Linked DNA regions of Homo sapiens: regions 1, 2, 4, 5, 6 and 7 are each linked to region 3. Evidence: promoter capture Hi-C in 16 types of primary human blood cells and fetal thymus (Javierre and others, 2016). All regions are on one chromosome and are shown on one strand. Each heading gives the region's core, a stretch centred on a gene start or on the middle of the fragment in contact. The rest is flanking DNA. Distances are from core to core; before and after follow the strand shown.

The links. The method cuts DNA at HindIII sites, captures the fragments that hold promoters and counts their contacts. A CHiCAGO score of 5 or more calls a contact.
Region 1: the fragment with the promoter of CLCNKB here is called in contact with the fragment with the promoter of FBLIM1 in region 3 in 17 of 17 cell types (M0 macrophages, neutrophils, activated CD4 T cells and 14 more); the score reaches 20.8 in M0 macrophages.
Region 2: the fragment with the promoter of HSPB7 here is called in contact with the fragment with the promoter of FBLIM1 in region 3 in 10 of 17 cell types (erythroblasts, megakaryocytes, M2 macrophages and 7 more); the score reaches 7.7 in erythroblasts.
Region 4: a contact is called between a fragment that was not itself captured here and the fragment with the promoter of FBLIM1 in region 3, in 1 of 17 cell types (activated CD4 T cells). The highest score is 5.3, in activated CD4 T cells.
Region 5: a fragment that was not itself captured here is called in contact with the fragment with the promoter of FBLIM1 in region 3 in 1 of 17 cell types (activated CD4 T cells); the score reaches 6.6 in activated CD4 T cells.
Region 6: a contact is called between the fragment with the promoter of CELA2A here and the fragment with the promoter of FBLIM1 in region 3, in 1 of 17 cell types (naive B cells). The highest score is 5.0, in naive B cells.
Region 7: a contact is called between a fragment that was not itself captured here and the fragment with the promoter of FBLIM1 in region 3, in 1 of 17 cell types (neutrophils). The highest score is 6.1, in neutrophils.

Annotation. Positions count from the first base shown.
Region 1 is chr1:16,042,090-16,046,124 of GRCh38, forward strand. CLCNKB (chloride voltage-gated channel Kb) reads left to right here and starts at 1,693. Exons shown (of 20, transcript NM_000085.5): 1 at 1,693-1,791; 2 at 2,397-2,503; 3 at 3,469-3,597. The coding sequence starts at 2,404. The HindIII fragment of the contact is 13,884 bases long and covers 1-3,933 here.
Region 2 is chr1:16,016,035-16,020,091 of GRCh38, forward strand. HSPB7 (heat shock protein family B (small) member 7) reads right to left here and starts at 2,009. Exons shown (of 3, transcript NM_014424.5): 1 at 1,731-2,009; 2 at 1,040-1,173. The coding sequence starts at 1,929. RefSeq lists enhancers at 811-1,557, 1,558-2,302. The HindIII fragment of the contact is 15,911 bases long and covers 1-4,057 here.
Region 3 is chr1:15,756,694-15,760,430 of GRCh38, forward strand. It overlaps FBLIM1 (filamin binding LIM protein 1), which reads left to right and starts at 2,102. Exons shown (of 9, transcript NM_017556.4): 1 at 2,102-2,155. RefSeq lists an enhancer at 1-234. The HindIII fragment of the contact is 4,964 bases long and covers 1-3,548 here.
Region 4 is chr1:16,199,365-16,203,494 of GRCh38, forward strand. ARHGEF19 (Rho guanine nucleotide exchange factor 19) reads right to left here. Exons shown (of 16, transcript NM_153213.5): 13 at 3,052-3,210; 14 at 2,418-2,497. Among named protein-coding and RNA genes, the nearest start is that of ARHGEF19, 11 kb to the right of the region's middle. The HindIII fragment of the contact is 4,968 bases long and covers 1-4,130 here.
Region 5 is chr1:16,255,513-16,259,580 of GRCh38, forward strand. It overlaps FBXO42 (F-box protein 42), which reads right to left. Exons shown (of 10, transcript NM_018994.3): 5 at 1,094-1,247; 6 at 199-309. Among named protein-coding and RNA genes, the nearest start is that of CPLANE2, 20 kb to the left of the region's middle. The HindIII fragment of the contact is 4,911 bases long and covers 1-3,777 here.
Region 6 is chr1:15,454,476-15,458,522 of GRCh38, forward strand. CELA2A (chymotrypsin like elastase 2A) reads left to right here and starts at 2,257. Exons shown (of 8, transcript NM_033440.3): 1 at 2,257-2,318; 2 at 2,611-2,699. The coding sequence starts at 2,279. The HindIII fragment of the contact is 8,750 bases long and covers 1-4,047 here.
Region 7 is chr1:15,316,864-15,320,955 of GRCh38, forward strand. It overlaps FHAD1 (forkhead associated phosphopeptide binding domain 1), which reads left to right. Exons shown (of 34, transcript NM_001391957.1): 10 at 961-1,065. LOC124903852 (a long non-coding RNA gene) reads right to left here. Exons shown (of 2, transcript XR_007065481.1): 2 at 1-546. Among named protein-coding and RNA genes, the nearest start is that of FHAD1-AS1, 25 kb to the right of the region's middle. The HindIII fragment of the contact is 2,508 bases long and covers 992-3,499 here.

The sequences.
Region 1 (4,035 bases), core at 443-2,942, 280 kb after region 3:
AGGAGGAAAACAGAGGCTCCGGATGGTGATGGTGTTAGGGTCACAGAGCCGCCCTGGGTTCTCCCCTGCTGTCTCTCTACTGAGCCCCCGCTACTGCTGCCAGGCGACTAATATGGAAGGGGAGAAATTAGGGCTGATGTGGAGGCAGTGGGTTTGGGAGGGACCTGCATTGGGTCCTGCGCCCCCTGGCTGCCCTCTTCTCAGCCTCCTGGGGCACACAGGGCTGGGGGGTGAGGGTGGATGTGGACATGCAGTGCCGGCTGTGGGACAGTAGCCAGCAGCTGCCCCAGACCAGACACTGGGGATCCGGATGTTGACAGGGCAGCCAGTTCTGGTGCTGTGCAGAGTCAACAGGTCAGGGTGGCCAAGATGAAGGTGGGCTCGGGTTCATGCAGAGCGGCAACCCCCATCCCACCTCCCACAACACACACCTTCAATTTTGATTTGACTTGCCTGGCATCTAGGGGCAAAGGGTGGCCCAGGGTCCCAGATTTTAACAATCATCCAAGGGCCATCATGTTATTCAGAGAGTGGCTTTGTCTGGGTAGGACTGGAGGCAATTGCCCCCAACATCTTGCCCCAAAGTGGCATCAGACACAACTCTTCTGTTCTGTGCCCAAACCATTGCCCTGGTTCAGCCTCAGGAGCTGGAGGAGCTTTGGGCAGGGGAAGAGCTGCACAGTGTGGGGCTGGGTTCAGCCTCTGCTGTGTGACCTTGGATGAGTGACTCACCTCTCTGACCATCTACAAAATGGCGAGGCTCTCCCCATTCACAGGGTGTGGGGAGGAGGACTTGAGCTGCGGATGTGACGCTTCTGACACGTTGCAGGCACACGGCACGTGCTTGTTCCTCGCCATGTCCCCTCACACCTGTGCTGCCATCCTCTGTTGGGGTGGGACAAACTCTGTGGAATTACCCAGAAGTCCCCACCAGAGCCGCTGGCCCTTGGACGTGTGCTTTGAGAGGCATTTCCTGAGCCTGGAGGGTCTGGACACAGGATCAAGTCTGAGTTCCTGACCCCAATTCACTGCCTTGCCCCAGGTGTCGGCCTCCTCGCCAGCCCTGGACAAGATGGGTCATCAGGATGGGACCGTGTGGCACAGCCTGCGGGCTTTGGAGCCAGGCAAACCTGGGCTGGGAATCCTGGCGCTGCCTCGGCCTCCGTGATCTTAGACGGGCAGCCCCACCTCCCTGAGACACCATTTCTCTACAACGGGATCACGCTGCCTGCCTCGTGGGATTTCCGTGGGCACTCAGGGTAATTAATCTAGGGGAAGGCTGACTCTCTACCTGGCACACAGGGAGGCTGTGGTCATGCTGGCCCCACTCACCTTTGCCGGCCTGCTTTCTCCTTCTCTGCCCAGCCTCCTCCCCTCTCCCTCTGTGCTTTTCCAAACCTTCCATGTCCAGCTCTGAGACCCCTGGACCCTGAGCCTCAGCCTTGGCAGATGACCCCTCTCTGTCCTGCTGTGTGCGTGAGCTCCCCCTTCCCAGCCCCCGTCCAGCAGCACCCAGGAGCCTGAGTACAGCTGGGCACCACCCTCTGTGCAGCTATGGTGGGTGGGGAGGCTCCTGTTCCCCTCCCTGTTGGCAGCTCTGCTCTGCTCTGCTCCGGCCTGGGCAGTTCTGATCGGTTTTCAAGGACATTCTAAGTGTTCGCCATAAACCCTGGGCCCAGGCGGGAAAGGGGGGAGGATGTTGATTGTTGGAACACACACCTGTCCAGGTGCAGGGGAGCTGGAGGCTCTGTGAGAGGAGGGCCAGCTCAGCCACAGCAGGAGGACTGACAGGTGAGGGGTCGCTGCAAGATGCTGGGGCCTGCCAGGGCCAGACAGGCAGGGCGGGGGGGGGGGGGTGGTAAGGGCAGGAGCCAGCACCTCACTTTGGCCCTGGTGGGATCTTCTTCTGGGCCTGGGGTTTTGCTGCCTCTGTGGCCTGAGCTGGGGTCAGGGGTGCTCATAGGTGGACAGGGAGAGTCAGAGCCATCCATGGGACTCTGCAGTGAGAGTGTCACAGCCCTGGGCAGAGACTGCTCCCAGCAGTGGAAGCGCCAAGTGACCCAGGAGGGTGGGAGCGGCTGCCACCGAAGGGGAAGGGGCTCTGAGCAGGGCTTGGGCTCCGGCCTGTGCCCAGTCTGCTGCTGGACACAGGGGGACACCTAGGAATCCCACCCCCATCCCACACAATGACACACACAGGCACACACCCTCAGTGACGGAAACTCAGGGATGAAGGCACACACAGACCTAGTGTGATAACTTCACATACACACACACACACACACACACGCACAATCTTTCCTCTTCATGGGTGGGGAGAGCACTGGAAGGGCCTAGAGGCAGTGCGAGGACGTGCAGCAGCTCACCGCGGTCCCTCCCTCTATCCGCTTCTCCAGGGGCCTGATGGAGGAGTTTGTGGGGCTGCGTGAAGGCTCCTCAGGGAACCCTGTGACTCTGCAGGAGCTGTGGGGCCCCTGTCCCCGCATCCGCCGAGGCATCCGAGGTGAGAGCCAGGTCCTCTTCCCTTCCCCCTGGAGGACCACTCAGGACATCATTCCTGCCCAGCTCCCACCCCACCTCCCTGCCCAGGAACCACCCTCCTCCTGGCATTTGTCCAGGACATGACTGCCCAAAGTCTCCTGGGTGGCAGGGAGGGAAGGGGTCTGTCTGTCCAGCTGTCTGTGGGTCAGATGGGCCGGGCATCTGCCCTCTGCCTTTCGGGAGATACAGCCCAAGGCCTGGTCACTGTGCCCATCTTCCACCCAGGCCTCTCCCTCACCTACCTGTGCCAATGAGGGGACGTGGGGGTTAGCTGCTGGGACAGCTGGGGCCACAGCAAGGGGCTGGGGCAGCCTACACTTGGCACCTTTCCTTGGAGCCCCATGTGCTTTGTTCACTTTGAGACCTGACTGTCCCCTCAGCTACGGGGCAGAGCAAGTAGGGACCACAGAAGGAGGCTGACTGCAACCCCAGGGGCTGGTGCCCACAGCCAGTGAGGGCCAGCTCCCAGGCTGGGCTAGCAGCCAGTGGGCCAGGAGCATTGCTGGGGACCCAGAGGATACCTGGCGCCACAGGTCCTGGGACACGCAGGAGTCTGCTAGATCCTGGTGCTCTCTAAGCTATGGACTCTGCGGGGATGCAGGTGAAAGCTGTAGCTGCCAGCCCCCTCCATACTCCCTGTCCCCCAGGAACCTCCCAGTACAGGCAGGGATGCGGAGGGTCGGCAGGTCAACGGCTTTCTGGTAGGGGCAGCAGTCCTGGCACCCACTGTGTCACCACTGTCACCTCCCACAAATCCTGCCCGGCCACTTATGTGAGGCAGGGCCCCCTCGGGACTACCCCAGAGTATACCACCAAGCTCCATCCCCCTGCCCCAGCCTCTCTGCCTGAAGCCCAGCAGGCCTCCAAGGATGGGACTGTCTGTGCCTCCTGCCCCACCCTGTGCCGTGACCCCATGCCCTGCCCCAGGTGGCCTGGAGTGGCTGAAGCAGAAGCTCTTCCGCCTGGGCGAGGACTGGTACTTCCTGATGACCCTCGGGGTGCTCATGGCCCTGGTCAGCTGTGCCATGGACTTGGCTGTTGAGAGTGTGGTCCGAGGTAACCCCTCCATGGCAGGTGCTGCTCTGGGCCAAGGGATTCTGAGCTCTCTCTGGGGATGCCAGGTGGATGTCGCCAGGTGCAGCGGAGGTTGGGGGGGGTGCTCTGGGTGGGGATCTGGTCCTGGCTTTACTCCTGACTTGCTCTGTGATCCTGGGCAGGCTCCTGCCCCTCTCTGGGCCTCAGTCATCTCATTTGCACAAGGGAGAGAGGCCTGAATGTTCCCAAGAGCTCTTCCTCCTCTGAGCTCTCTGCCTCCTCTTCCAGCCACCCTGTTTCTTCTCCTTCCCTCCTCCATGCCCTGGGGCAGAGTGGGGGCACTTCCCTATAACACTAAGCTTGGTGCTTCCTCCCCATCCCACCCCATCCCTCAGCAGCCTGCCTCCACCCTGAGGCCTCCCTGGAAGAGGGGGTGTGGGCAGGAAGGGTCTAAGACAC
Region 2 (4,057 bases), core at 759-3,258, 260 kb after region 3:
GCAGTGGCTCCGAATCTGGGGCTCCTGGGGAACGTGGAGGTGACAGAGGAGAGCCGTGCCTTCCTGGATCCCCGGGCACATTGGGCATCTGCCCGCCAGGGCTGAGCGCCGGCCCCTCCCCCGCAACTCAGCCAGCACATAGTGTCCAGGGGAGTTTGGGGCGGCTGAGTCACTGTTGGGGGTGGCAGGGCTGGCACATGCTGCCTGTGGGTTTTGGTGCCCCCAGTCCATGGCATCCCTGGCAGGGACGCCCAGAAATCCACCCTTGAATGTGGAGGGGAAGAAGCCAGTCCTTGGGGGCTTAGGAGGAGGCTTGGGTCAGGTCCTCTCCTCTCTCCTGGCAGCCGTGGCTGTCCCTGGGCAACGCCCCTGTTCAGGCCTGGCCATACCCTCTCCAGGGTGGAGGCCCCAGTGCCTCCTAGAAGTTCGGACTCAGACACGCTAGAGACCCAGTGACCCTGAGACCTGTGGGCGGGCGCTGTGTGTGGTTTGGAGTGTGTGTGACCCGAAACTGCAGGGCCCCTGCCCAGCCTCGGGCCTAATTTAGGGGTCCCAAGATGGGGGATGGGTCTCCAGCTGTGGGAGGGAAGAGGGCTTGAGGTGGGTCACATGGAGAAACCCCTCCCCCCACTGCCCAGGTGAGTTCCCCACCTACCCGCATCCGCCCCCCTATAGCTACCAGAGGAGCTGTCCTCACTCTGCCATCACCATCTCACACCTGTCATCTCCCACCCTCAAGCCCCACCCCCTCAGGCTCCCTCTGCCCACATCCCTCCATCCCTCTCCCATTCCTCGGAGGCTCCCTCAGCTGCTCAGGCCCTGGAAGAAAGGATCTGGGAACCTCGGTGCAAAGAGAGGCAGTGAGGGGGCCCCATGGCCATGGGTTGCAGGGACAAGGCCTTCAGTTAGCCCTGGGGGAGTTTGGGTGGGGAAGGGACACTGGCCAGGGTCTGGGGTCCCAGGATGGTAAGGGGGAGTAGGAGACATTGGAGGCAGGAGCAGAATTTGGGATGCGGTGAGTAGGGGGTGGGGGGCTCACCTTCTCAGCCCGCACCTCGATGTGGTTGTTGGAGGTGGTGACAATGATGTCTTCAGGTGAGAAGTCTCTCACGTCCACCGCAAACTCATAGGCGTCTCCTAGGGTCTTGATGTTGCCTGCCCCACCGGGGCGGGCTGTGGGATGGGCTGCTGTGAGCGAGGCATGGAGCAGGCCTTGCATGCAGATCCGGGGGTTCTGGCTCCTTCTCTTGGGGCAAGGGGCGGCTCCCCCAGGCCCTACCTCCCCCCTAGCTGTTTCTCCCTAAGCTCCTCCTCATTCCTACAGCCCACCTTTTCTGGGGTGGGGGTGGGGCCTCACCCAGCACAGTGTGTGTGTATATGAGGCTAGGTCTGTAACAACCCCACCCCAGGCCTGGAGCCTGGGGGCTGCCCCCCACCGCTCACCCATCCAGCCCTCCAGGGCTCCAGCTGGGATTGGCTGTGGTTACAGAGCATGGGTGGCCATGGAACCATGTCCAACCCCCAGGGCCACAACTGTTCCTTAGAGGCCCACCTGTTTTCATGGCCACATCTGTCCCTGTGGCCACATCTGTCTTGGTGGCCACACATGGCTGCAGGCTGTGCAGCACCTGTTCCAGGCCGACCGGCAGCCACAGCGCCTTCGGTGGCGCCCTGGAGCAGACGTCCCCTCCCTGTGCACCTCCCCTCCCCTCAGGGCCCGGATCACTTGCCTGGGAAGGCCAGGGGCTCCGAGTGGGGCCGCATGAAGCTGCCAAAGTCATCGGAAAACATGCTCAGGGCCTTCTCCATGGGCGGGTCCTGGGCCGGGAGAGCACGGGAGGCCGAGGAGGAGGTGGAAGAGGAGGAGGAAGAGGAAGAGGAATGGAAACTTCTCTCCGCTCGGAAGGTGGAAGAGGTTCTGTGGCTCATCCACGGACGGCGCCGGGCCCTGCCCAGGCGGGCGAGGGCTGGACAGGAGAGGGTGTGGGCGCAGGCCTCTGGGCGAGCGTGCCAGGCTCCGACTGCGGCCGCTTTATAAGGCCGACTGTCCCTGGGCTTGGGGCCAGCCCCTTGTCTACTAGCTAAATTTAGGCCTCTCCATGGCCCAGAGGGGGCTGGAAATCTTCTCCCGTGCGCCGGCCCTGCTGACAGCCCGACACGCAGGCCGAGAGGGCTGAGCTCACAGCCTGACATTCCAGGCTGATCACAGCAGCCCCAGGGGCCTCCTCACCACTGCACAGGGCTGGATCCTGTCTCCTTGCCACTCGGACCTCGGTGCCTGCCCCAGAACCTTGCAAGTTTGGGGTTTATTGTGTGTTTTGTTTCCCCCGTCAGCCTGGGGGCTCCTGAGGACTGTGCCTCCCCTCCAGACTCTGGTTCTCCTCCACGGCTGTACCTCCTCCATCAGTGTGCAGGCTCCTTGGGGACAGGGTAGGTGGAAGCACCACCGCTCTGTGACGTCAGGAGCTCCTTCCCTCAAGGCAGACAACCTTCACAGCCCATCTCTAAGGAAAGGTTGAGCCCTGCCAGGGGGTGTAAAATGTGCAGCTGTCCCCTGCCAGCCCCCATGGGGACCTGGATTCTGTGCCTGCACTCCCTCTGACTCTCAGAACATTCAGCAGCCCCAAGAGGACAAAGTTGGCAGCTTTCTCCTTAAAGGTCTAGAAGGTTGTGTTCCCGGCAACTGTCTGCTCCATCTCTGTGTCAGAGGTGATGCCTGCGAGCGCCTTAGGTGGGATTTCAGTCAGAGGTAAAAGAGAATTCCGGAAGACAATTATTCTAGCCCTGAGTTCTAGAATGCCTTCTGGGCATGGGCTCCTGGCTGCAAGCTGTCCAGCACGGCCCCGTTTGATCCCCACACAGCTGGGAGGGTGGAGGGGCTCTTCCCATGTTACGGACGGGGAAGCGAAGCCTCTTGGAAAGGGCGGGGCTCGCAGTTGCGTAAGTGGCAGAGCTGGGATTCGAACCTAGATGTGTTGGACCCAAAGCCCTTCAGAGGCCGAGGTGGTTTGAACATGTGCCTATGGAGACAGGCTGGCCCGGAAGAGCCAGAGAAGCCCCTCCCTACCCACCTGCTTGCTCAGCAAAGCTGGGACTGACCTTGCCCTGGGCCAGGGTGGAGGCCATTCTGAGAGGCGGCCAGGCCCTCTGCTCTGCCCAGGTTGCAGTTAAGGGCCTCTGCTGTCCTCTCCAAATCCGTCCCTTCCGTCCCAGATCAGCTCCAATGCCTCCTCCCCCAGGGAGGCCTCTCTGACTGCTCCTGCTCACATGGGCCCACACCCAGTCCAGATGCCCCCAGCACTGACTGTCTTTGTCCTCCCACAGCACCTGGCAGTGTGACATAGTCTTCCTGTGTGCTGTGACTCTCTGCTGTGTCCCTTCTTCCCTATCCAACTGGCAGTTCCCACGGGGGCGAGGGTTCACCTGTCTCCCCATTAGATTGAAGGTTCTTGAAGACGGGCAGTTTCTCTTTTGTCTGAGCCCCCTACAACCCAGTCTGGAGCTTCATCCTGGAGAGCTCCTTCTACAGGGGTATTAGCGGTGCTGGTGGTATGTGGAGTGGAAGCAGAGCAGGGCACAGGGCACAGCGGCGGGCCAGGCTGTTGCCTGGAGCAACAGGGCCTGTTGCCTCTGGCAGAGTTTCCTGCCCGTGTCGGGGCCTGTGACACCCAGCCTGGCTGAGGGGTTTCTAGGGCAGCTGGGAAGCCACCAGCACTGAGGTGAGATGGAGAGAGGGTGGGGCGGGGTGGGGGGCCCAGAGCCTGCCGCTCGCCAGGGAAACAGGAGCCGGTGGCTAAATGCAGACACACTGTCATGGTGCTGAGGGCCTGAGTCACTGCCCCTGGATGTCAGATCCCGTTACCCACCCCCGCCCACCATTCCTCCTCCCCTTTTTCCCCCTTCCCGAGGCATCACCCACACAAATACTGGATCCTCTGGCTTCACTGACCCAGAGGGACCTCAAAAGGTCATCAAGGACATTCCCCTGCCTCTACCTTCAGATCACAGAGACAGAAGGAGCTACAAAGATGATGCAGTCCTTTGAATCCCAGTCACC
Region 3 (3,737 bases), core at 852-3,351:
GGTGGCGGTGGAACAGGTGGCCTGGGGTGCTGGAGGCAGGTAAGCAGAGGCAGTTGAACCCCTCATTCCCCTTGGACTGTCCCAGAGCAAATGTGGGAAGCCTGGGTCCTAGACTAAGTCAGTGTGACCTTGAACAAGGCCCCAAATCAACTCTTCGTTGCCTCACTATCCCACCTGGGGGTGCAACAGGTGGTTCAGGGGCTGTCATGGAGGTGAGGGCAGGCAGCTCCACTTTTATCTCTTAAATAAACTTCTGGGTCACTAAGCATTTGCAAAGGGGTTCTACAGCCAAAAGCGCCTGAAAACCCCCAGATCGCACCTTCCTCCTTTGAGTCCTTCCCGTCTCTGTCGTTCAGAGGGTATGGGGAAGTCTCCTCCAAAGGGTGCTGCAAAGCTGGAGTTTTGGGGGGCAGGGGCAGGATATCACTGCCAAGCCAGGAATGAGCCGAGCAGGGACTCAGACAGCCTTGAGTCCCAGCCTCGCCCTGCTGCACAGAACTCTCAGCACCTCCAAGCCCCAGCTTCCGATTCTGTAAAGGATGGCACTGGTACCTGTTCTTGAGACTAGCAGAGCTGTGTGCCCAGGGACACAGCGGCTCTGGTTTGAATTTGGCTCTGCCATTTGCCCCTAGTGTGGCCTTGAGCCTCTCGGGGCCTCAGTGTCCTTGACCGTGAACAGGAATCATCAGCCCTGGTGCTCATGGCTCTTGTGGGATTAGGATGGGGATGAGGATGGGTACCAGCACCTAGAAAGCCCCTATCAATGGCAGCTCCTGGGACTGCTGCTGTTACTGCAGCTTGGCTGAGAGGATCAAATGGGAAAAGGGGCGACAAGAGGGATGGGAGGGGCGATGATCAGTGGGTGAGGGCGGAGGCAGCCTCCTCTGACCCTCATAAACCAGCCTCCCTCAGAAACAGCCCCAGAGCCACCCTGGAGGGGTGACTGTAGCTGAGGGGTTGCAGGACGGGCCAGATCCTGTCTGGCCACCCCGCAGATGGCGCTGGGTCCAGCGCTCCTCAAGCCTCAGCCACTGTGGCTTTAATCAAAAGAACAATCTGTCTGCCTCTGAATCAGACCCAGATTCCTTTCCCCACAATGTCCCTGAGGCCTCCAGGGACCCAGGCAGTCCATCCCGGCCCCATCCCGGGCCCCAGAGTCCAGGCTCTGCCTCCCCTCCCGCTCCCGTCCTAATTGCTCCAGCTGGGAGGGGGAGGGTCACTGGATGTGGAGGGAGGGGTTCAGCCACAGGGCCAGCCGGGCCCTGCCTTCCAGAGCTCCTGGAGCGGCCTGTCCCCCGGGACACCGGGACCCACCTGCAGAGGGCTTACCGCTCAGGAGAGCAGAACAAGGTGACCTGCTCCACTGGGGGTCTCCGAGACCCCCACCCTCAGGAACACTCCCGGAAAAAGCCCCCAACCCAGCATATATTAACCACTATTAATCACAGTCCTGGCTGTAACTGTCACCTTTTATCCTCAGGCCAACCTGGAGAGGTAGGCAGTGGCTACCTCCACTTTACAGATGAAGACACTGAGGCTCAGGAGGTGGCGTGACTGCTCCGGGTCTCACGCTTAGTAAACGGCCGCAGAACCCTGGTCGGTTTGACGCAAGACCCTGGCGGATCCCAGAGCCAAAGTAAGCGCTCACCTCCGCCGGACAGGGTAGGTGGGGTTGCCAACCCAGGAGAGCGAGGGAAGGGGGACGGCAGGGACCACTCGGGGTCCATGAAGAACGCGAGGGGATGGGCAGCGGGGAGGGAAGGAAACCCACCCCGACTCCCCATTCTCCTACCCCCACTCCCCATCCCTCCCATTCCCCCATCGCCCCCATCCCCATTCCCCCCCATTCCCACCCCCTGGCCTGTGCCAAGGGGGAGGGGAGGCGTCGTCCAGGGAACAAAGGGAGGGGGAAGGGGCGGCGCGGGGCGCGGCCGGGCAGGTTGGGGGGCAGGTAGGGGCCGCTTCCGCGGGGCGGGAATCCCGCGCCCCCTCCCCCCGAGCCTCACCTTTTATGGTAAAGCGGCGCGGGGCGGCGGGGCGGAGGGAGCCGAGGGGGCGGGGAGGGCGGACGGGCGGAGGGGACGGGAGGCCCAGCGGCTCCGGGCTCCGCTGGCTCGGGCGTCGGATCGGAGCCGCCGGGGCGCGGGCGGCCCAGGTAAGCGGGCCGGGTGGGTGGGGGTCGCGTCCCTCCGTCCCTGTCCCCGGTGCACACAGGTGACAGCGCCGGCAGTGCTCGGCCGGAGCCTGCTCGGTCGCCAGCCGGGACCCCCGGCGCGGCGCCCCTGGAGGGGCCTGCGGGTGGGGGGTGCGGTCCTCACGCCCTTTGCGTCCCAGTCTCTTGGTCTCTCTCCCCGGAGTCGGGGAGTCGGCAGGTCCGGGGCGAGGGCTCAGTGAGGCCGGCGGAGGGCCGAGTCCCAGCCCGGGAGCGGGAGCCGGGGACCCGGCGCGCAGGGCGGAAGCTCCCGCACAAAAGGCCGGAGTCCCGCACATGGATCGAATTAAAGCTCCGGCGGCGCCCAGCGGTGACCCCGGCGGCCGCCCTGCTCGGCTGCCTGCGGAGGGTCCCGCGTTTCCGGAGCCCGGGGGCGCTCCAGGCCCCTTTTCCTAGCCAGGGTCAGGCAAGGGGAGGGACGGGTCCCGGGGCTGCTCCTCTCTGGGCCTCACGCGCCCGTCGGGGGCTGAGAAGGTGTGGAGATGGGCGATACCCAGGTGTGTGCCCTGGGATGATCTTGGCGTCGGCCCCTACCCCTCACCTCCCACCCAAGCCTGAGGACCCCGGGGAGAGGCTGGGGCCGCGCCCAGATTCCTGCTCTTAATGACGCTGTAGGTTCTGTCCGGGTCCTGGAGGCACCCCCAGCCGAGCCCAGCCCCCGGGCTGCTTCTCCCTCTCAGCTGCTGCCTAACCAGCTGTCCTTCTCTTTGCACCTTCCAAGGGCCTAGACCCTGAGTCTTCTTTCCTTATATATCCTCTCAGCCGCCCTAGGGACACACTCATTCTCACTTTATGAAAAAACGAGGCCAGAGAGTTTCTGTGACCTATTCGGGGTCACCCCGCAGGAAAGAAGTGGGGCCGCGTGTGAACCCAGCTCTCTACCTCCTCTGTTTCCCTGGGGTGGGAAAGAGGTTGAGGGAACCCCTCCCCTAAGTTGCAGGGTGGGAGGGGTTGGGGCACACCCCGCCACTTCTGCCTAAATTTAATTCCGTACCCAAAGGTAGACTGCTTTATCCGGTCATTAAAGAACAAAGCTGGCCGGGAGCGGTGGCTCACGCCTGTAATCCCAGCACTTTGGGAGGCCGAGGCGGGCGGATTACCTGAAGTCAGGAGTTGGAGACCAGCCTGGCCAACGTGGTGAAACCCCGTCTCTACTAAAAATACAAAAATTAGCCGGGTGTGGTGGCGCGCGCCTGTAATCCCAGCTATTCGGCGGCTGAGGCACGAGAATCGCTTGAACCCAGGAGGCGGAGGTTGCAGTGAGCCGAGATCGCACCACTGCGCAGCCTGGGCCACAGAATGAGACTCTGTCTCAAAATAAATAAATAAATAACAAAGCTTAAGCCGGGTGTAGTGGCTCAAGCCTGTAATCCCAGCACTCTGGGAGGCCGAGGAGGGCGGATCACTTGAGGTCAGGAGTTTGAGACCAGCCTGGTCAACATGGTGAAACCCTGTCTCTACCAAAAATACAAAAATTAGCCAGGGGTGGTGGCGTGTGCCTGTGGTCCCAGCTACTCAGGAGGCT
Region 4 (4,130 bases), core at 697-3,196, 440 kb after region 3:
CATTGAGGCTTCTATTCCTCTGCCACTGCCATGCCACAGGCCCACGTTCAAGCAGGCATACCCTCTGCCCACCCTGGCCTATCTCCTCTCCTACCCTAAACACAAGTGCAGGATTAATCCAGTCCCTCCCAGCTTCAGTTTCTGCCTCTATACCAAGGGCTGTCCCCTCCCCAGCTCAAGCCAACACCTTGCTTGTGACCTTCAGACCCCAACGTCCAACTGCCCCCAGATACCCCACAGAAAACAGTAACGGCCCTGCAATGTGCCCCTAACATCACTCTGGTGCTCCCTTTGGCCCATCCTTCCCAACTGGGATTCAAGCTGCATCGCTCCCGTTTAAAGCCCTCCAGGGCTTCCCAGTCCTCTTAGAATAAAATCCAAAGTCCTCCCTAGGCCCTACAAGGCCCTTCATGGTCTGGCATCGCCCCCTGCTATCCTCGTCTTCTCCCCTCCACTTTCCCTCCCTACTCTCCCCTCCACTTTCCCTCCCTACTTTCCCCTCCACTTTCCCTCCCTACTCGCTCACAAAGCTCCAGCCACACCAGCCTCCCTGCTGTTCCTCACTCTAAGCTCCCTCCTGCCCCAGGGCCTTTGTGCTGGCTCTTCCTTCTGCCAGATGCTCTTCCCCAGATCTTTTCGTGACAACCTCTCCTCATCCTTCAGGGGTCAGATGTTAATTGCCAGGGACCTCCCCTGACCACCTGGGAATAGAGAGCTTACCCCCACCCAGGTGGGACTCCTAGCTCAAGCCAGAGCATCTACCCCCTTCCTGGTCCTCAGCTCTTTTCATTAGACCAGGTGGGCTGGTAGCATCCAAAGCCACAGACTGAGGGGCCAGACCTCGCTTGAATCCCAGTTCTGCCGCTTACTGGCTGTGTGACCAATTTACTTCACCTTCTAAGCCTGAGTTTTCTCAGATATGAAAAATGTCTACCTAGTAGGGTTGCCATGAGGATTAAATTAGATTTAATGCAAATACAAGGCCCCTAGCCCTGGGCCTGGCCTATGGCAGGCGCTCAGTGGGCATGAGTGCCCTTTCTTTCCCTTTACTACCTAAAGCTCAGCCCTAACTCCTCTGCTCAAAAGCCTCCATTAAGGCTGGGTGCAGTGGCTCACACCTGTAATCCCAGCACTTTGGGAGGCTGAGGCAGGTGAATCACTTGAGGCCAGGAGTTCGAGACCAGCCATGGTCAACATGGCAAAACCCTGCCTCTACCAAAAATACAAAAATTAGCTGGGCATGGTGGCAGGCGCCTATAATCCCAGCTACTTGGGAGGCTGAGGCAGGAGAATTGTTTGAACCTGGGAGGTGGAGGTTGCAGTGAGCCAAGATTGTGCCATTGCACTCCAGCCTGGATGGCAGGGTGAGACTCTGTCTCAAAAAAAAAAAGCCAGGCGTGGTGGCAAGTGCCTGTAATCCCAGCTACTCGCAAGGCTAAGGCATAAGAATCACTTGAACCCAGGAGGTGGAGGTTGCAATGAGCAGAGATTGTGCCACTGCACTCCAGCCTGGGGTACAGAGTAAAACTGTGTCTCCAAAAAAATAAATAAATAAAGGCCTCCAATAAGCCAGGCACAATGGCTCATGCCTATAATCCCAGCACTTTGGGAGGCTGAAGGGAAAGGATTGCTTGAGTCCAGGAGTTTGAGGCCAGGCTGGGCAACATAGCAATACCCTATCTCTACAAAAAATAAAAATAGAGGTGTGGTATCCAGGTGTGGTAGTGCATATCTGTGGTCCCAACTACTCAAAAGGCTAAGGCAGGAGGATCACTTGAGCCCAGGAGGTTGAGACTACAGTGATCCATGATCATGCCACTGCACTCCAGCCTGGGCAATACAGCAAGACCCTGTCTCAAAAAAACCCCAAACAAACCTTCAATAGCTCCCTAGGGACACTATAGGAAGGCTCTCTATGATTAGGTCGCACCCTGGCTTACCAGCCTCACTTCACACCCAAAGGAAAAACCTTTATTCCAGCTGAGCAGATGCCTCACCTGCCACCACTACCCCCACCACCCCTCATACCCTGGCTCTGGCTGCTTCTTGTCTTGTTTGCAACTGACGCAAAGATGGAGACAGACCTGGGCTCTGGTCTCGGCTCTGCTACTTACTGGCTGGGTGAACTTACACAAGTCCATTTATCTCTGAACCTCTCTTCTAACTTGTAAAACAGGGGTGAAATGGGAGGCTACGAAGGCTTTATGATCTCCAGGATGCTGCCTGTGGACACAGAGTCCACCTGTGCTATGTAAGTTCTGCCCAGCCTTCAAGGTTCCTCAGAGCTACCCCTGACTGCCCCAGAAGTTGGTCTCTCTCCCCATAGCCCTGCCAGCAACACAGCACCCAGGATGGGAGGGGAGGAGAGCGGGCGAGGGTCCAGCCCAGGGATGTAAGCAGCAGGGATGAGCTACTACCTTCCCCCTCACTGATGACCTCCTTGTCCTCCTGGGGGCTGGAGGGGCACAAGGCTGAGATCCATCGCTGCTTCTCACTTCTAGGGAAGGGGGAGGCTAAGTTGTCACAATATGCAAAGTGCAGTTGCCCAGGGCAGGGTGCTGAAACCAAGGCTGGGGGAGCCAGACATGATGTCCAGGCCTAGGACCCAGGCCTACCCTAGGGACCCATGTCTGCCCCACCCCAGGGCCCACCCCACAACCCGGTTCCCAAGCCTGTGCCCCACCCAGCTCTGAGCATAACAGGCCCAGAACCCCCTGGATGCCAGCCCTACCCCCATCCTGCCTAATGCCACAGTCCTGAAGCCAGAGATAGCAGGGTGTGGAGGTTTACATCCAAGAGATGCCCAGAGGCTGAGGAGGAGGTGGCAGCCCCCTGACACCACCTGTGGGGCAGGCACCCCTACTCTGGCCTCCAGCCCTGCCCTCTGCCCCTGTGTCCTGCCCAAGTCAGGGAAGAGTTGAGCACTTGGGGAGGAACAAGGCCAGGATGTCCCAGGGGTGCCCGCCATGGGGACGGGGTGCCCATCATGGGGACGGGGTGCCTGTCATGGGGAGGGGGAGCCTCCTCTCTCCCATATCCAGGCCCACTCACTCCGTCCGGGCCCGCAGCAGGAACTGGTGCTTCATGTGCTGCCCGTGGAGGAGCTGGAGGAGGAACACGTGGCCGGGGATGCCCTGCAGCTTCAGGCTCAGGTCCCGCACCTGCAGCTCAGCCATCTTGGCATGGACGAAAACGGCAAACTTCCCTAGCCTGGAGGACCGGGGGAGGGGAGGTCAGCCTGGCCTGGGCCCTGGCTCTAGGCACCCACCCTCGGGATCAGGTGGGTTCTGACTGGAAGTGGGGAGAAGGGGTTGCCTGCCCTGCCAGCGTTCTCACAGGGTCCTGCTTCTGGATAGGGCACTGCTAGTCCCCACAAGGAACCAAGAGCTCCTTCCCCGCTGGCTTGCTGGTGGAGGCTGGAGGTGATGGAGACCAGTCCCTGAGCCCCAAGCACACTTTTGACCTTTCTCTCTCTCTTTTTTTTGTTTTTTTATTTGTTAGTTTTTTGGCTTTTTGTTTTGTTTTGTTTTAAGACAGAGTCTCGCTCTGTCTCCCAGGCTGGAGTGCAGTGGCATGATCTCGGCTCACCACAACCTCCGCCTTCCAGGTTCAAGCGATTCATGACCTCTCTCTGAACCTCTCTGCCAAGCGTCTGTTCCAAAGAGCCAACTGGACAGCTCCCCTGAGGAGTGTCTAACTCTCTTCCAGTATATAAGCCCCACGAAGGCTGAGCCTCGTCTCTTTGCCACTGTATCTCAGTGTCTGATGATACTGCCTGACCCACAATTTGGGCTCAGTAAGTACTTGTAGGCAGGATGGGTGGAGGGTGTTCCACAGACGTCAACTCATTCAACAAAACTCGGCATCAGAAAAAACTCAGCTTCTCCCACTCCAAGCCAGATCCCCTTTACTGTTCTCCATTCCAGTGAAAGACCCCACCAGTTTGCCCAAGAGGAAACTCAGACGTCATGCTCACCTCTTCCCTTTCCATCCCCCCTACACCCATCTGGTAGCTATGTCCTGTCTTTCCTCCTTATTGTCCCTTGAATCCACTTATCCTGAAGTACCCTGCCACTTCTGGAGCATCTACCCTCTCCTGAGCAACTGCAAGACCCTCTGGCCTCTCCCCT
Region 5 (4,068 bases), core at 72-2,571, 500 kb after region 3:
TTAGTAGAGATGGGGCTTCGCCATGTTCGCCATGCTGGTCACAAACTCCTGACCTCAGGTGATCCACCCACCTTGGCCTCCCAAAATGCTGGGATTACAGGTGTGAATTAGGCACCTGGTCCCTAATTCACTTTTAAACCTGTTATTCCCAGGAGTATTTACCTTCAGGCTCATATGGAGCAAACCAAATGTACTTACATTTGCCGGGATCCTAAAGAGCCACCAAAGACAATCATTTTATCATCTATCACACAGGAGGAGTGGCCAGCCATGGGAGGTGGCCCATGGGTTGTCACAATGCAGTTCCACCTAATGTAAAAAGACAGGAGGAAGTCAAGAAGTCAGCACCACACACTTTATGTAAAAATAGTAAGTAGGCATCCATTTAAAATGATAATCCTATCACTTTCAGCAGAGATTTGTTGGGATAATAAGTAGAGGATGGCATAATGTATTTATGCCTTTCCTACAAGTTTGCTTAAAGTTATCTTCTTTCAAGTTCTGAATGTAAACGGTCTGGAGGGAGAGAGATGAGAAAACGATGACAAGAGACAAGATCATGGCTTCTTTGGCCTGGTTTGCTGACAAAGCACCACCTGCCACCTGCTACCTTTCCCTATGGTCCTGATCAGTAACAGCTAACAAGCGCCACGTACTAAGTCTTCCATTACAAGAAACGGCGGTTGCTGTCATTAAGAGATATATGTTTGAAAAACAATTCAGAGTAAGTCTTGGAGACACAGTTAGGAGTAAGGAATCATCTGGATCTACAACACTCCTGGAGTGTTAGCAGCCAAAGCTGAAGAGCTCGCTGTTCTTCAACTGGCTCATTCATTTTTCTTGAAAGAGGAATAAATCTCTTCTATTTTTTCTCTTTAGAATAAGGATTCTAAATGCAGGGTTCTAAGAGAGTCCTGTAAACTCTCTGAAACTGTTGGTAAAATCTGTGAATATGTGCATTTTTCCCCTCCTGGGAAAAGAGTCCACAGCTTTCCATCTAATTCTCAAAGGGACTCTTGACACAAAAAAACAAAGAATCCACTGATTTAAGGCCTTTTCTTCCAGATTTAAAGAGTTTATCTTTGTGACTTACCAATTTTTAGAGGGTGAGTAAGTGTGTATTTCATCAAAGAATCTCTCTGGCTGGTGTAGGGGATAAGGGCTTGGCCGCGTCCAGCCACCAAACAGCACTAGCAAGTCCTTGTACACGACCAGAGTTGCTCCAGCTTTGGGGGAAGGATAGGACCCTAGGGAAAGTCAGTAACACCATGGTTAGCATTCAGGATCTCACAACAATCCGTAGTTAGGCTATCCATAGATCACCTTTCCCTGGAAGAGCAACAAAAGGGGAACTAATACTACAAAGTGTAGAGGAAAGGTGGAAAGAAAACTGGGTTTGAGTCTGAGAGAAAATCATCACTAATTCACACGTCTTTTATTATTAACAGAGAAATATGAGTTAGAGAAAAGTTACTTAGCCTCTCTCATGTTTATAATTTGCTCACCTAAAATTAGGGATGAGAGTACCTATCTCATAAGGCTGTTTTGAGTATTAAATAGTATATTCAAAGCACCTAACATAATGCCTGGCACATAGAAAGTGCTCAACAAATGAGCACCCCTTCCCATCCCTTTAACAAACTTAACAGAGGTCACAAAGAAAAGAAAGAATGTAGAGGACCAGGGAGAAGTATACATAGAGGCTGGATGTCTGGATGCAACTTAAAAATAACTCGTTACAAAACACAGGTAAGAAAAGGAGGCAGGAGGCAGTTCTTATTTGTCCCGTGAGTCAAATTTTAACATAGGGACCTCCAGGCCCCTAGCTATGGGCTTCACATAACCAGATAGCCTCAGCCTAGCACAAATGGGGCAGACCTTCAAGGATTGGTGTGAAGGAATTCCAGTGAAACCATAAGTCTTACACCAAACACCATCTAGACTGGACCTCTGGGCTACACTGACCAAATTCTGAAAAAAAACACTTTGGCTTATGCTGGAAAACTTTAGAGATAACAAATGTCTTACAGGAGCATAATTTTTCAAAATCTATTGTCTTTGAAATAACAATTGCTATTTTTCCCCATCCCTCACTCTACATGTCACCTTTAGTTTCCTCAAGACCAAAGTAACTTGTCCCAATATCCAGGTGTCAGTAAATACCAGAATACTTTTTTTTTCCTTTGGAGGTGGAGTCTCGCTTTGTCACCCAGGCTGGAGTGCAATGATGCAATCTCGGCTCACTGCAACCTCCACCTCCTGGGTTCAAGTGATTTTCCTGCCTTAGCCTCCTGAGTAGCTGGGATTACAGGCATCTGCCATCATGCCCAGCTAATTGTTGCATTTTTAGTTGAGATGGGGTTTCACCATGTTGGCCAGGCTGGTCTCAAACTCCTGACCTCAGGTGATCTACCCGCTTTGGCCTCCCAAAGTGCTGGGATTACAGGCGTGAGCCACCATGCCTCGCTGAGAATACTTTTTTTTTTAAAATCTTTTTTTTTTCTTTTTGGTTAAAGCTGCAGGACTCATTTTTCAAAGGATATCTTAAGCAGAAGAAATCCCAACACTACATTAACCTGACAGCAGTCGAGATGCTCCAATCTAGGTGGAGAGCTTTGCTTCCTCTTTCAGTAGCACATTACAGAACACTGTTTGAAAAGCCCTGCTCAGACTGCTTTAATGGTGTCACTTACAAAGTCTCAAGGTTGAGAAGGTAGAGCAGAGGACTGTCTTTCTTGTGATCTCACTTAGGGGAACAATACGATTTACTGAGAAGGCATCAGTCCTGAAGAGTACAGGGTGAGCATCTAAGAACACCATGTGGCATCAGCTATTTTTCATTTCTTCTTCCTTTTTTTTTTTTTGAGACAGGGTCTTGCTGTTGCCCAGGCTGGAGTGCAGTGGCACAATTACGGCTCACTGCAGCCTCAACCTCCTGGGCTCAAGGGATCCTCCCACTTTAACCTCCCAAATAGCTAGGAATACAGGCAAGCACCACCATGCCCGACTAATTTTTAAATTTTTTGTAGTGATGGGGACTCCCTGCATTGCCCAGACTGGTCTCGAACTCATGGGTTCAAGCAATCCTGCCGCCTTGGCCTTTCGAAGTGTTAGGATTACAGGTGTAAGCCACTGTGCCTGTCCGTGTCAACTATTTTGAATACTTTCATAAATAAAACCAACACTAATCCAGACCACAGGAACTGACTGTAGAAATGAGTCTTTATTTATTTATTAATCTTGAGACAGGGTCTAGCTTTGTCACCCAGGCTAGAGTGCAGTGATGCGATCATGGCTCACTGCAGCCTCGACTTCCTCAGGCTGAAGCAATCCTCTTGCTTCAGCCTCTCGAGTAGCAGAGGCTACAGGCATGTAATACCATATCCAGCTAATTTTTAAAATTTTTTTGTTGTGATCAGGTCTTGCTATGTTGCTCAGGCTGGCCACGAACTCCTGGCCTCAAGCGATCCTCCCGCCTCAGCCTCCCAAAGTGCTGGGATTATAGGCATTACCCACCTCACCCAGTCAGAAATCTTCTCTAGGAAGAGTTATCACATCAATCTGAAGTGCTGAGGTATTCTCTACCCTCAAATCCCACAAGAATAGTGATTAAAGAGGCTGTTGTCTTTCATATAGCCTTACTGTTCCTGGTCAAAAACATTTACCTCCCCAAGGGGATCTATCTCCTAGCCCAATTAGAAAGCCTAAGTAATATAATGGTCTAGTTAAAACACAACTATTGCTCTAAAATAATTTAATTTGTGAAATACCAGACAAAGCTTCCAAGTTCTTGCCTCTAACTTGGAAATCATCAGTACTATGAAACAGTTAGAAAAAAGAAAAAACAAATAAACACATCACAGACTTCAGCAAAATAGTAATGTAAACTCTCTAGACTAGAATGTGGATTTGGATTTGAGATACTGGGCTTAAAGAAATTATAAATGCAGTATAAGAATATATACCTCTTGCCAGGCGCAGTGGCTCACACCTGTAATCCCAGCACTTTGGGAAGCCAAGGCAGGCAGATCACTTAAGGTCAGGAGTTTCAGACCAGTCTGGCCAACA
Region 6 (4,047 bases), core at 1,007-3,506, 300 kb before region 3:
AAACAAAGATACAGAGCAGAACGCCAAATTCACATGAACCTTTAAGATAAAATATGAGACTTAAGAAATAGTTGGTTGCTGTAGTGACTCATACAGACCACAAATGAGTCCAAACTGTTACAGGGATTATGGGATGGAGTTGGGACTGGAATCTACATCTTCTGACATCCAGTCCCATGGGATGCTGCCCCCCACCCAATCTTTCTCACCTTTGCACCATCCTAGGGAGATTGCAGAATTCTTTCCCACCCATTTTCTTACCCGTACAACAATCCTGCAATCCAGGCCTGGATGGTTATCTAGGAAAGTAAGGCCCAGAAGATAAGTGGCTTGTCCAGACCACCACACTCAAAATTGATGGATCAAAGACTTGAACTCGGCTGGGCGCGGTGGTTCATGCCTGTAATCCCAGCACTTTGGGAGGCCGAGGCGGACGAACACGAGGTGAGGAGTTCAAGACCAGCCTGGCCAATATGGTGAAACCCCGTCTCTACTAAAAATACAAAAATAAGTCGGGTGTGGTGGCCGGTGCCTGTAGTCCCAGCTACTAGGGAGGCTGAGGCAGAAGAATCACTTGAACTTGAGAAGCAGAGGTAGCAGTGAGCCGAGATCGCGCCACTACGCCCTAGCCTGAGTGACAGAGCGAGACTCCGTCTCAAAAAAAAAAAAAAAAAAAAAAAAAAAAAAAAAAAAAAAACACTTGATATCAAGTCTTAAGAGTGTGGAGCTGGTCTTTTTTTTTTTTTTTTTTGAGATGGAGTCTTGCTCTGTTGCCCAAACTAAAGTGCAGTGGTGCGATCTCAGCTCACTGCAACCTCCACCTCCAAGGTTCGAGAGGTTATCCTGCCTCAGCCTCCTGAGTAGCTGGGACTACAGGCATGCAGCCCCACACGCTACTAATTTTTGTATTTTTAGTAGAGACGGGGTTTCACCATGTTGGCCAGGCTGGTCTTGAACTCCTGGCCTCAGGTGGTCTGCCCGCATCAGCCTCCCAAAGTTCTGGGATTATAGGAGTGAGCCACCGTGCCCGGCCGTAAAGTGCATTTTCATCCACCAGATGAAGCCCTCCTCTGCCAGCGTTCTGCTTCCCCCCATCATTAGAGTGGCCAGATCCTAATTGTGCATGTCGGCCTTGCCTTCTGCTACATGTGCACCTTCCCCGCATTATGCAAATTCTGCTACATGTGCACCTTCCCCACATTATACAAATCCTTACCACAATGTTGTGAAACAATACTGGGCATGGGTTTCTCTCCCTGTTTCACAGATGGGTCTAGAGACTTACATGACTCAGCCAAGGTCACATTGCAACCCCTGGTATGGCCTAGAACAGGCTTTCTCAGTCTCAGCACCATTGACATTTGGGGCAGGGCGAGTCCTATTGCCCAGTGCATTGTCGGGTGTTTAGCAGCGTCTCTGCTCTCTGCTCCCTGCCCACTGGATGCCAATTTACATCAACCCCAGCCATGACAACCAAAATTCTCTCCAGATGTTGTCAAACGTCTCCTGGTGGGCTGAACCAGCCCCATTGAGAAATACTGCCTTAGAATGCTGTGGGCTCAGCATGCCACCTTAATCTTTTCATTGAAAACACAACTCCTGGCCGGGCATGGTGGCTCAGCCTGTAATCCTAGCACTTTGGGAGGCCGAGGCGAGCAGATCACTTGAGGCCAGGAGTTCGACACCAGCCTGGCCAACATGATGAGACCCCCCGTCTCTACTAAAAATACAAAAATTAGCCAGCAATGGTGGCACACACCTGTAATCCCAACTACTAGGGAGGCTGAAGCAGGGGAATTGCTTGAACCCAGGAGGCAGAGGTTGCAGTGAGCTGAGATCACGCCACTTCATTCCAGCCTGGGTGACAGAGCAAGACTCCATCTCAGAAAGAAAAAAGAAAGAAAGAAAGAAAGAAAACACAACTCCTCTCCTCAGTCTTACCCAGGGAGGGGAACAAAAACAAACAAACAAAAAAAAAAACAACTCCGAGCACCAACAATTAGTATTTTTCTTCCTTCCCTAACACACAACATAATCTCTTCAAAACAGATGGAACCCATATTCCAATATCTACCTTTGGCATCTTTTTCAAAGTATTTCTAGGGTGACATTTGGGAGGAAATGGGAAAAAAAAAATATTTGGACACAGCTCTTTTTTCCACTGGGCTTTGAGAAAACCCCATCTTGCGTGCTCTTACTGTATCTCTCACTGATAAGTCCGCTCATAAAACCAGGGCCTTATCCAGGGCCACGCTTACAGAACTCCCACGGACACACCATGATAAGGACGCTGCTGCTGTCCACTTTGGTGGCTGGAGGTAAGTCCTGTTACCCAGAGGCACTGGTTTCCCATGCCCTGGTGGGGCTGGAAATGGGATCTTCCTGTCCTCCCCTCTCGCCCCCACCCAACCCCTACTGCATTCAGACCTATAATCATAAGAACATTGGAATGGAGTTTCAAAGAATTGGAGCAAAGAGCAGGATTCTATGACCTCTTGGGATCCTTCTAGAACAAGGGTTTTCTATTTGGGGGGTCAGAATGCGCAGCAAGTGTAGTTTACATTGTGTGGGTCGCTGCTTCCTGACTCAAGACCCTTTCTCTTTTCACAGCCCTCAGTTGTGGGGACCCCACTTACCCACCTTATGTGACTAGGGTGGTTGGCGGTGAAGAAGCGAGGCCCAACAGCTGGCCCTGGCAGGTGAGTTGACCACACTGTACTTCTCCCCGTCCCTGCCCCACTCCCTTTACATCTCCCCTTTGCCCTTCCACCATGGCGTCTATTGTGCTGGCAAAGTGAGTATTGATGGGACTCAGAGAGCAGCACAGGCAACTTTAGCAATAAGATATATTTCCGGCTGGGCGCAGTGGCTCATGCCTGTTATCCCAGCACTGTGGGAGGCTGTGGTGGGCAGATCACCTGAAGTCAGGAGTTTGAGACCAGCCTGGCCAACATGGTGAAACCTGCCTCTACTAATAATACACAAGTAGCCAGGTGTGGTGGCACACGCCTGTAATCCCAGCAACTGGGGAGGCTTAGGCAGGAGGATCGCTTGAACCCAGGAGGCAGAGGTTGCAGTGAGCTGAAATTGCACCACTGTACTCCAGCCTGGGCAACAAAGCAAGACTCTGTCTCAAAAAAAAAAAAAAAGATACATTTCTGTGGCCTTGGCCAACCTTGGGAGTGGAGGGAGAGGTGCCTCCTCCAGCTGCAGTAAGGAGCTGTCCCCTCCCCACTGCCCATAGGCAGCAAATATAGTATTACTCTATTAACCAATCAGAGGCTTGTTTACAAATGTACCATCAGTCTAGGAACCATTCAAGACTACCTATGCAAACATTCCTTGCTTTAAGGAACCAATCAGTGCTATTTGCGCAGATTAATCTTTAACCACAGGCAAATCAATGTTACCAATGAAAAAAATGTTTTCTTAAGTTGATATAATCATAGTGGTATCAAGACTAAACTGCCAAGTGGGGCACAGGTGTAAATTACTCAGACGTGTTAATGGTGGGGATTTTAAGAGAAATGTGTAAAGTTTACATTGACATAAACAAATATAGTGAAATCTCATTTATCTGATGTAATTGGGACCGAGTAATTGAAAAGTTGGTTATAAAGAAATTATTTTAAATCATATATATATAGTAAAGATTTTATCTTAGACTATGTAAACAATTTTTTGAGTTCTTAACTGTCTTTTTCATATAAGCCATGCCCCATATCTTATCTACAAACCCGTTTCTTTAAAGCAGAGCAGTAACTTTGAGACGTTCACAAAGCAATCTGAGTTATGAGCCCATCCAATCTTTCCATTTTCTCACAGACACTACTTCAAGAGCAATTTTTTAAGAGTCATGGTGATCCAGTCTCTTCCAAGCATTTAACTTTGTTTCCATATAAATAACGACTCTCTTTCTGAACTCATATTTCATTGGTTACATGTTTAATCAAATTTCATTATTACAAGCATAATTGATATAAACTGCTTTGGGAGCAAACCCAGCTGAATCAGGATGAGTTTCTACCTTAAGTAGGAGGAGCAACT
Region 7 (4,092 bases), core at 996-3,495, 440 kb before region 3:
TTTATTTAAACACAACTATTTAACACCCACTTGTAAAAACAAAACAAGGCAGTGGCTCACATCTGTAATCCTAGCACTTTGGGAGGCCAAGGTGGGTGGATTGCCTGAGCTCAGAGGTTCTAGACCAGCCTGGGGAACACGGTGAAACCCCGTCTCTACTGAAATACAAAAAAATTAGCTGGGCATGGTGGCGGGTGCCTGTAATCCCAGTTGCTTGCTTGGGAGGCTGAGGCAGGAGAATTGCTCAAACCCGGGAGGCAGAGGTTGCAGCGAGCCGAGATCGTGCCATTGCACTCCAGCCTGGGCAACAGAGCGAGACTCTGTCTCAAAAAAAGAAAAAGTTATTTGCCTTATGTAGAAGGTAACCATAAAAATAAATACAATGAAAATAAGACCATTAAAAGTCAAAGGAGGTGTATTCCTGACGCCCTCCGAATCCACCCTGCACATCACCAGGTGTGCGTTTTCCACTCGGGAAGTTCAGCTTCTCCAACTTGCTCTTCCCCACGCCAGCACCGTTCCTCCAGGCCAGGAACATTTTACTCTCTGCCTCAAACAAAAAAGAAAAAACATTTCATTGTTCCGTTCTTCCAGACCTTGCCTGTTGAGTCTTCCAAACAGTTGGCCCTTTAGATTGAACTCAAAAATATAACCCAAGAGCAGGGTTTCAAGTGAGTTGATGGGTGTCCTGTAGTCCTTAATCCAGGAGCTGTACTGACTTCCAAAAGAAACTAATTTCCTTTATCCAGAACTTTTAATATATCAGTCGAAAAATAAAGTCTATTTTGCTGAGAGATGTAAAACCTTCCTCCAGGAGAAGGAATTAAATAAGCTGATACCAGACAAGGTTTCCACCTTAATGGATGGGATGCCAGGGGATGATGAGGGCTCAGACCTCTCAGCCAAGAAGGCAGCTCCTGCCCCCATCAGGGAGGTTCACTCTTGTTGAAACTTTTTCAGCAAATCCAAGACATGGAGAAAGAAATGAAGAAGCTTAGGGCAGAGCTGAGGAAGAGTTGTACTGAACAAAGCGTGATCTCTAGGACTCTGAGAGAAAAAAGCAAGGTACGTAGTGGACAACAGGCCCAGAGAGTGGTGTGGGCGGTAGCTCCCCACTCATCATCCCTGTTAGTCCTCTAAGTGGACTATGCTGGTATTAACCCTTCTTACAGCTGAGAAAACTGAGGCTCACACAGGGACAGGGACCAGGTTCACTGCATAAAGTAGTTGTGGCAGGACTTGAACCCAGGTTGGTCTGACTCCAAGGCCCCTGTGAGTAACCCCACTACTCCTCACTGCCTTCTAAAACTGTTTCTTGCTTTTTGGTAATGAGACCCACCTCTGGCCTCCCAATCCCAGTTTTGAGTTTCGTGTTGCTTAATTATTTTAATGTCCCTTCCCATCATGGGAAAAAAAATTGTATTGCATACTCCAGACCTGCGCTATCCATAACAGTAGCCACTAACCGCGCATGGCTATTTACATTTAAATTAAAGCCGGTAGCTCACGCCTGTAATCCCAGCATTTTGGGAGGCTGAGGCAGATGGATCACCTGAGGTCAGGAGTTCGAGACCAGCCTGGCCAATGTGGTGAAACCCCGTCTCTACTAAAAATACAAAAATTAGCCAGATGTGGTGGCGGAGGCCTGTAATTCCAGCCACTCAGGAGGCTGAGGCAGGAGAATCACTTGAACCTGGGAGGTGGAGGTTGCAGCAAGCTGAGATCGTGCCACCGCACTCCAGCCTGGGCGACAGAGCAAGACTCCGTCTCAAAAAAAAAAAAATTTAATTAAAAATAAATAAAACAAAACGTTGCTCCTCAGTTGCCAGCCACGTTCCAAGTGCATAGTAGCCACGTGTAGCTGGTGGCTGCTGCACTGGACAGCACAGATATGGAAATTTCCATCAGCACAGCAAGTCCTATTGTTTTAAATTAATGGTGACCTCTTTTAGCAACATAACCAATTGAAGAGTTGTATAAAAGATGCTTATGGATCACACATTTATTTTAATTTTTTTAACTGAAAATATCTTCGAGAGTCCTGAGCAGTGTGGACAGAATCTCTTTCTTTCCATTTGAATCATCTAGTTTATTTGATTAGAAGATGGTTGTCATTGAGAAAACTAAGAATTTTTTTTTTTTAATAAATAAAGACAGAGCTTCACTATGTTGCCCAGGCTGGTCTTGAACTGCTGGCCTCAAGCAGTCCTCCTGCCTCAGCCTCCCAAAGTGCTGGGATTACAGGTGTGAGACACCACGCCCAACCACAACTGAGAATATTTTAAGAACAAATCTAAAAGGCAGAGGAATTCTATGTGAAGGGAGGTTCTCAGGGATGATCTGAGAAATAAAAGCAAATAATCTATTTTTCTCCAATTTTATTTAATATGAATGTGAGTATAGTCAGCAGAAGTCAAATCATTAAAACCTCGTGAGCTGAAATGTATACTACACAAGGATCACATCTTATGGATAGTATTGAAGCCTGCAAAAGTTGGCCAGACATAAGTAGACTTGGCAGAAATAATTAACACAAAATTAAAATCAACAGTTAAGACTATACAAAGTAAAATTTATTTATCAATTAAAACTTAAGAGAAAAATCAAATATTCTTGTCCAGGTGCAGTAGCTCACGCCTGTAATCCCAGCACTTTGGAGGCCGAGACAGGAGGATTGCTTTAGACCAGGAGTTCAGGACCAGCCTGGCCAACACAGTGAGGCCCTGTCTACAAAAAATTAAAATAATCACTTAAAAAAATCAAATATTCTTGAAAAAGTTTAGACTTGTAAAATATAATATGGGGAAAATGGACATGGTAGAAATGAAAACTACAAAATAAAACACAGACAGACAGACCTGTGATTGGTAAATATTTGATAGGGTCCAGAAAAACTTATGGATGAATCAAATCATAATTGTATAATTTGCCTACAAAAGAACTGATCCAGATCAAAATAATTTCAGGAGACTAAAGTGAAAATGGAAACATTTGGAAATCTGTTAAACAACTGGCTTAATGAACTTTGCTCTAGAAAATACCCTCTCAATGAAAATGAACTTGCTATGGTATATTTTTCTTTTAAATAGTTGTAGTCATGAACATGGAGTCAAAATGCTCTCTGGGCTATCAATTTTTCTCTAAACAAGGCTTTGGCTGCATTCCACAAGTCTTAGTACGTAGTATTTTCGTTATTATTCAGATCAAAATATTTTCCAAATCCCTTTGTGATTTCTTCTTTCACCCATGGGTTACTATGCAGCTTATTTCCTAATTTCTAAATATATGAGGGTTTTCTGCTTACCTTTTTTGTTACTGATTTTTAGCTTAATTACACTGTGGTCAGAGAACATTTTCTGTGTAACTTCAATCTTTTGATATTAATTGAGACTTGTTTTATGGCCTGCATGTGGCCGACTGCAGTTCCACGTGCACACTTGAGAAGAATACGCATCCTGCAGTCATTGGGTTTAGTATTCTGTATATGGACATTAAATGAAGCTTGCCGATAATGCTCAAAACTTAAATGCTCTTGTTGATTTTTTTTGTCTGTGTGTTTTGTCAGCCACTGAGAGAGGCATATTGTTTGAAGATCCTAACATGATTGTGGATTTGTCTGTTTCTTTTTTTAATATTGTCAATCTTTGCTTTATATATTTTGAAGCTGTGTTAGTAGATGCATATGTATTTACCATTTCATTACTTCCTATCGAATCAAATCTTTGGCTATCACAAGATGTTCCTCTTCATTGCTAGAGATGTTTTTCCTTTAAAGTCTTTGTCATTAAGGTAGCTCCATCAGATACACTAGCTTTCTTTTGATTTGAGTTTTCATAGACTATCTTTTTCATACTTTTTATGTCAATCTTTATTTTACAATGTGTATCTCATGTGAACAGCACATAGGTTTTATACAGTTTGACCATCTTTGTCTTTCAGTCCAAGTATATTTAATATAATTGCTGGCATATTGGGATTTAAATTTATCTACTTGCTCAGGGCCAGGTGTACTACCTATGTTCCTTTTTCTCCCCATTCTTTCCTTCTTTTGAGTTGATGGGTTTGTTTTGTTGTTGTTTGTTTGTTTTTTGA